Regions from separate parts of the Homo sapiens genome. Here region 2 is linked to region 1. The links are contacts of gene promoters, found by promoter capture Hi-C in blood cells and fetal thymus (Javierre and others, 2016). All regions are on one chromosome and are shown on one strand. Each heading gives the region's core, a stretch centred on a gene start or on the middle of the fragment in contact. The rest is flanking DNA. Distances are from core to core; before and after follow the strand shown. Region 1 holds the start of SEPTIN3 (septin 3). Region 2 overlaps NDUFA6-DT (NDUFA6 divergent transcript).

Region 1 (3,892 bases), core at 1,193-3,692:
TCTTCCCAGTGAGAAAGTGGGCGATCCAGGGACCGTGCCTGGCTGTTCTGATGGAGAGTCAAGGAGATGGAGCTGAGCTTCCTGGGTACAAGGCTGCTGGTGGGCAGGGGGCTCAAGGAAGCCCCCAGAGCGATGCCCGTCTCCTGTGGGGGCACACTCCGGGTCCTGGCTCCAAGGCCCAGCCGGCTGGAGGTCTGTGGGATATGGCTTTGGGGGAAGGTATCCAGATGGATGGTCTTCCTGAGGACGGGGGTGAGGGGGGACCCTCCTCCAGGGAGTCTCGAGGGGCGGATAGGGCGCCCCAGCACATGGCTATGGGAGAAGGAGGTTCCCGGGCCTGGAGCTCCATGCGACTGCATCTCTGGAGGAGCAGGAGCAAAGTTGTGGTCCATCCAGGTCGTTTGTCTTTCCCTGAGGCAATCAACAGAGAGAAGAGGCCAGGCAGGGGTGAGGAGCTCAGGCCTGGAGGTCTCAGCTCTCCCCTTCCTGACCAGCAGCTGAGCATGCCGGGTCTGAAGGGGCCTGGTTCTGGGGACTGTCCAGTCCTTAGTGGAGGATGCATGTAACTTCCTCCTGTCCTCCTACGGCTCCTACCTGCTGCAGACTGATCTGTACCTCATACCTACCCCACCCCGGCCAGCCACCACACAGTGGGGTGGGCACGTCCAGTGAGCAGTCTGCCTCCAGCATGGGGCATCTCAGGCTGGGCTTACGTCTCCCTTTGCCTGGGCCTGAGTGTGGCCCCTGTCTCTGTGGACAGCTCTATGGAGGTCACATACATGTTCAGGGACTCCAGAGGAGGGCAGTGCTTACTGGAGACGTCTCTCCCTTTCTCTTCCAGAAAGAACCAAAGGGCTGTGGGTTCCCACCCACAGCAGCCAACATAGGAGCTCAGGTGTCCAGGTGGCAGGATGAGAGAGGACCAATTTGGCTTAGAGCCCCAGAACCAAGAAAGAGCCCTGAGCTGGCCTAGTGCTGGAGTCAGAAACAGAGCCAGCCCTGGAGAAGGTGAGGATGGGAAATGGAGAGGCAGTGAGTGTTCACAGAAGGAGCTTATCTGGTGAACAAGCCATGGTCCCCGCCCTTGAAGAGGCTGCCATGCCCAGGGATGCCAGGCAAGGAAGTAGGCAGGGCTCCACCAAGCTAAGCATTAGGGGTAGAAAGGCGGGAGGCTAGACCTGAGCTGGGGCTGTTCCTACAGAAGGCCCAAAGGTGAGAAAGTGTGGCATCTTTCTGAAAATCCAACATGGGGCTCCTAGGCTGTATGTAGCAGGGAGGGGAGAGCCAAGGCTGCAGGTGAGCTGGGGTCCAGGCCAGGCTACAGCAAAGTTTAGGCCAGGGAATGTGACCCATTCCGATCTGTAGGTGGGAACGGCCACTCGGGCAGTGTGACAGAGGGATCAGATGGGAACAGAATTGAAGCCAGGATCCCATGAGGACATAGTTGAAACTCTCTGCTCCGTGGGCTGTGCAAGGGGCAGAGCTAGGGCTGGGGCTGGAGGAGGCTGCATTGCACAGGGGTAGAAGTGGCGGGACTGCCCAGGGTAGGGAGTGGGCACAAAGAGGTGTCGAGGATGAAGCTCAGGACTCTGGCTGTGGTCTTAGTAGATGGGCCACTCCCTGCTACTCTGGACTCCAAGTAACTCACCCTCTAGAAAAAAGTTGGTTTGGTTGCTTTTAACACAGCAGGCTGGGACCTGCAGCTGGGGGACAAGGCCAGGGCTGGTGGGAGGAGTCAGTTCCAGAGGGCTCATGGGGAGGGGAGTGATCATGTAGCCAGGTCCTTGAGGTCTGCAGCAGGGACGGGGAAGGCAGGGCACCGGACAGGGAAGGCATCACCCCTCACAATGGTGCCCCCAGCCCCTCATCCCTCTCCAGCCATATATTTGTATCCAAGACTGTCCTGGCCTCCAACCCTTTCCCACCTGGCCTATCACTGCAGCCCTGAACTTCTGCCCCCTCCTGCACAGCCACATCCACTTGGGCACACACGTTTACCCTGCACTTAGCCACAAACAGCTCCCCTCAGTGTGCACACCCACACACAGAGCAGGCCAGAGGACAGGGTGTCCGAGGGCATCACCCGACTCCCCATCCCCTCACTGCACTCCCATCTTCCATGGATTGCTTGGTCCTTCCCCACCCCACCCCCACCACCCTCCCACCCCCACAAACCCCCACACCCTTCCACCCCCCTACACACCTACCTTGATCAGAGGACAAGAAGGATCCAGTGTGTCTGGGAAGATAAGGCACACGCAGGCCCCTCACCTCCCCTGCACTCAGAGTCTGGCCATGGTGGCCAGCTTAGGGGCCTTGTCCCTCTGGTCCCCTCCTCAGCTCCTGCTCAGCCTCCAGGCCACAGTCCCCAGGCACAGGGCCCAGCCCTCTGCTCACTGTCCCACCAGCTACATCCCCGGAGACCGTGCTGGGCTGGGCTCTGGTGCAGGGAGGGGCTGGCTTCCTAGGAGTGGGCGGCTGTGAATGGCTGCTCTGAGCCTCTGGAATCCTGAAGAGCCATGGGAGGCTGGTAACGGCCAGGCTGGCACTCACGGCCACCTGCAGGGAGGTTCCCTGCAGCCTGCCCTCCCCAAATCTGCTCTGTCTCCCACAGACTTTGATGCCTGGGGAGTCTGCAGTAAAAACAGGGGTACTCCAAATATGGCTGCACTCTGGTAGTCCCAGCGCGAGTCTCCCTCTGGCTCTGCCTCTGTGCCCTTCATGCCCTGTTCAGCTCTGCAACCCTCAGACCATCTTGCCCACTCACCTGGTCTTTCCTCAAGGGGGCTGGAGTTCCTGGAGGCTAGAGCTCCTTCCACAACTATTCCCTGAGCCCCAGCTTGCTCCAGCTGGACCCTGTACCCAGACCCTAAGGGTGTGAAGAGGACCCCGCCCTAGGCCTGCCCCTGAGGGGACCACAAAGCCACCCAGCCTGGCTCTGGCAATGCCGACTCTCAGCAGCCCCTGGCCCTGGGGCTGGGATGGGAGCCCTCTTCTGTGTTCCCACAGCCCTCGGCTGCCTCTGTCATAGCAGTGGTGATAATAACAATGGTGCTGATAACAGCTACTATTTCCTGAGCACTTGCTCTGTGCCCGGCACCATGCCAGGGCTGGGCGGAGCTCACAGTCTGCTAGGAAGATAGGTATGTAAACAGATCCTATAGTACTGTCCTGTACGGTGATGGCAGATGTCCTCCGAGCACTCACCCTGAGTCAGGAACTAGGCTAAGCATTCTCCTGGCATCTCCTTTAATCTCCGCCTCATCACCTGCTTTTTACCGAGGAGGACATTGCAGCCCACACAACACTGTGTTGTCTGGTCTGCTCTCCTGTGTGTCTCTCTCTTTAGCGAGTGAGCTTCTGGAGCTGCGCTGGGCAATACAACTTTCAGTGATAATGGAAATGTTCTATGTCTGTGCTGTCCAGTACAGTAGCCACTAGCCACAGATGGCTACCGATCACTTAAAATGTGTCTACAGTGACCAAGGAACTGGATTTTTTAGTTTATTTTAATCTGTGGCTACCATATTAGCTCAGCTCTGTTTCGTTTGTTGTTGCTGTTGTTGTTATTAGTTTTTTTGAACAGGGTTTCACTCTGTCGCCCAGGCTGGAAGACAGTGGCGCCATCATGGCTCACTGCAGCCTCTTGGGCACAAGTGATCCTCCCACTTCTGCCTCCAGAGTAGCTGGGACCACAGGCATGCACCACCACGCCCAGCTAAGTTTTTATTTTTTGTAGAGACGGGGGTCTCCCTATGTAGCTCAGGCTGGTCTCGAACTTCTGAGCTCAAGCAATACTCCTACCTCCACCTCCCAAAGTGCTGGGATTACGGTCGTGAGCCACCATGCCTGGGTGGAAAGCTCAGTTATGAAGGTCCTGGATCTTCTTCTC
Region 2 (3,600 bases), core at 1,076-3,575, 120 kb before region 1:
CAAGAGAGCAAAGCGGGAGATGCCACACACCTTTAACAACCAGATTACAGATGAACTCACTCATCACCAAGGGGATGGTGCTAAGCCGTTCATGAGGGATCTGCCTCCATGATCCATTCACCTTCCACCAGGCTTCAACTCCAACACTGGGGATGACATTTTGACGAGATTTGGAAGGGACAAATATCCAAACCGTATCACCATATTTTGTGTTTTGTTTAGGTTTGTTTTTTTGTCACCCAGGCTGGAGTACAGTGGTAGGATCATAGTTTATGGTAGCCTCGAACTCCTGGCTTCAAGCAATCCTCCTACCTCAGCCCCTCGAGTAGCTGGGACTATAGACACGTACCACCATGCTTGGCTATTTTAAACAAATTTTTGTAGAGATGCTATCGGGCAAAATTCACCCCTGATATTTCACGTAGGTTCTTTTCTATTTTCCCTAAGTGTCGGCCGGTCTGAGAAATAAAGGGACAGAGTACAAAAGAGATAAATTTTAAAGCTGGGTGTCCGGGGGAGACGTCACATGTCAGCAGGTTCCGTGATGCCCCCTGAGCCATAAAACCAGCAAGTTTTTATTATCGATTTCAAAAGGGAAGAGAGTGTACGAATAGGGTGTGGGTCACAGAGATCACATGCTTCACAAGGTAATAAGATATCACAAGGTAAATGAAGGCAGGGCGAGTTCACAGGACCACAGGACCGGGGCGAAATTAAAATTGCTAATGAAGTTTTGGGCATGCATTGTCACTGATAACATCTTATCAGGAGACAGGGTTTGAGAGCAGACAACCGGTCTGACCAAAATTTATTAGGTGGGAATTTCCTCATCCTAATAAGCCTGGGAGCGCTACAGGAGACTGGGGCTTATTTCATCCCTACAGCTGTGACTGTAAAATACAGCCACCCCCCAAGTGGCCATTTCAGAGGCCTACCCTCAGGGACGCATTCTCTTTCTCAGGGGCGTTCCTTGCTGAGAAAAAGAATTCAGCGATATTTCTCCCATTTGCTTTTGAAAGAAGAGAAATATGGCTCTGTTCCGCCCGGCTCACTGGCAGTCAAGAGTTTAAGGTTATCTCTCTTGTTCCCTGAACGTTGCTGTTATCCTGTTCTTTTTTCAAGGTGCCCAGATTTCATATTATTCAAACACACATGCTCTACAAACAATTTGTGCAGTTAATGCAATCATCACAGGGTCCTGAGGCGACATACATCCTCCTCAGCTTACGAAGATGACGGGATTAAGAGATTAAAGACAGGAATAGGAAATCACAAGGCTATTGATTGGGGAAGTGATAAGTGTCCATGAAATCTTCACAATTTATGTTCAGAGACTGCAGTAAAGACAGGTGTAAGAAATTATAAAAGTATTAATTTGGGGAACTAACAAATGTCCGTGAAATCTTCACAATTTATGTTCTTCTGCCACGGCTTCAGCCGGTCCCTCCGTTCGGGGTTCCTGACTTCCCTCAACAGATGCAGTCTCACTATGTTGCCCAAGCTGTTCTCAAACTCCTGGCCTCAAGCAATCCTGACATTATAGGAATGAGCCACCATGCCTGGGTGACAGACCACCTTCTGTTTATCCACTTATCAACAGATAGCCATTTGGGTGTTTTTAGTTTTTGGCTATGGTGAATAATGCTGCTATGAACATTTGCATACAAGTCTTTGTGTGGAAAAAAATTTCTTCAGGGTAAATACCTAGGATTGGAATTGCTGGATCATATAGTAAGTCCACGTTTAACTTTTTTTTTTTTTTTTAAATACGGTCTCATTATTTTGCCTAGTCTGGTCTCAAACTCCTAAGCTCAAGCAATGCTTCTGCCTCGGCCTCTTACAAGTGAGTACCACCACTCCTGGCCATATTTAACTGTTTAAGAAACTGCCAGACTGTTTTCCCAAATGGCTACACCATTTTACATTCCCACCAGCAAAGTATAGAAAGTTCTAATTTCTCTATATCCTTGCCAACACTATCTTTTGTCTTTTTTTTTTTTTTTTTGAGATGGAGTCTTGCTCTGTCACCCAAGCTGGAGTGAAATGGCATGATCTGGGCTCACTGCAACCTCCACCTCCCGGGTCAAGCAATTCTCCTGCCTCAGCCTCCCTAGTAGCTGGGATTACAGGCATGCACTACCATGCCCAGCTAATTTTCCTATTTTTAGTAGAGAGGAGGTTTTACCACGTTGGCCAGGCTGGTCTCAAACTCCTGAACCCAAGTGATCTACTGGCCTTGGCCTCTCAAAATGCTGGGATTACAGGTGTGAGCCACCGTGACTGGCTGTGTCTGCCTTTTTCACTCTAGCCATTCTACTGGGTGAGAAATGGTATCTCACGAGGGTTTTGATTTTTATTTCCCTAATGGCTCATGATGTTGAATGTCTTTTCATGTACTTATTGGTCACCCGTATATCCTCTTTGGAGAAATGGTTATTCAAATACTTTACCCATTAAAATAAAAATTTCATCTTTAAGAGCAGTTTCGAGTTCACAGCAAAACTGAACAGAAAATACAGGGTTCCCCCACCCCACACACACTCATAGCCTCCCCCCACCAACAACATCAGGCACCAGAGGATATATTTGTTATAAGCAATGAAGCTACATTGACACACCAGTATCACCCATATCCCATAGTTTACATTAGGTTTCATTCTTGGTGTTGTACATCCTGTAGGGTTTGACAAATGTGTAATAACATGTATCCACCATTATAACATCCAGAGTAATTTCACTACCCTAAATATTCTCTGTGCACCACCTCTGTGCATTTCTCCCCACTCCCAGCCCCTGCCATCTTTTTTATTGTCTCCATAGTTTTGCCTTTTCCAGGATGTAATATAGTTGGAATCATACAGTATGTAGCTCTTTCAGATTGTCTTCTTTCACTTACTAATATGCATTTAAGGTTTCTCCATGCCTTTTCATGGCTTAATAGCTCATTTCTTTCTAGTGCTGAATATAGTCCATTGTCTGGATATACCAAGGTTTATTTATCCATTTACCTGCTAAAGGACATCTTGGTTGCTTTCAAGTTTTGGCAATTACAAATAAAGCTGCTGCTGGCCGGGAGCGGTGGCTCACGCCTGTAGTCCCAGAACTTTGGGAGGCCAAGGCGGGCAGATCACGAGGTCAGGAGATCGAGACCATCCTGGCTAACATGGTGAAACCCCGTCTCTACTTAAAATACAAAAAATTAGCTGGGCTTCGTGGCAGGCGCCTGTAGTCCCAGCTACTTGGAGGCTGAGGCAGGAGAATGGCGTGAACCCAGGAGGCAGAGCTTCCAGTGAGCCGAGATCGCGCCACTGCACTCCACCCTGGGTGACAGAGCGAGACTCCATCTCAAAAACAAAAACAAAAACAAAAGCTGCTGTAAACATCCATGTGCAGGTTTCTGTGTGGACATAAGTTTTCAGCTCATTTGGGTAAACACTAAGGAATGCAATGGCTGGATCTTCTGATGGGAGTATGTTTAGTTTTGTCAGAAAGCCAAACTGTCTTCCAAAGCTGCTGTACCATTTTGCGTTCCTACCAGTAAGGAGAGTTCCTGTTGCTTCACATCCTCACCAGCATTTGGTGTTGTCTCCCTTGCCCATT

Evidence for each region. Contacts are between HindIII fragments. The CHiCAGO score rates a contact against its expected background, and 5 or more counts as called.
Region 2: a contact is called between a fragment that was not itself captured here and the fragment with the promoter of SEPTIN3 in region 1, in 1 of 17 cell types (endothelial precursors). The highest score is 5.1, in endothelial precursors.

The regions. Positions count from the first base shown.
Region 1 is chr22:41,967,993-41,971,884 of GRCh38, reverse strand. It overlaps SEPTIN3 (septin 3), which reads right to left and starts at 2,442. Exons shown (of 12, transcript NM_001363845.2): 1 at 2,208-2,442; 2 at 1-411. The coding sequence starts at 392. The HindIII fragment of the contact is 14,934 bases long and covers 1-3,892 here.
Region 2 is chr22:42,093,042-42,096,641 of GRCh38, reverse strand. All of the region lies in intron 3 of NDUFA6-DT (NDUFA6 divergent transcript), which reads right to left. Among named protein-coding and RNA genes, the nearest start is that of NDUFA6-DT, 3.9 kb to the right of the region's middle. The HindIII fragment of the contact is 4,764 bases long and covers 1-3,600 here.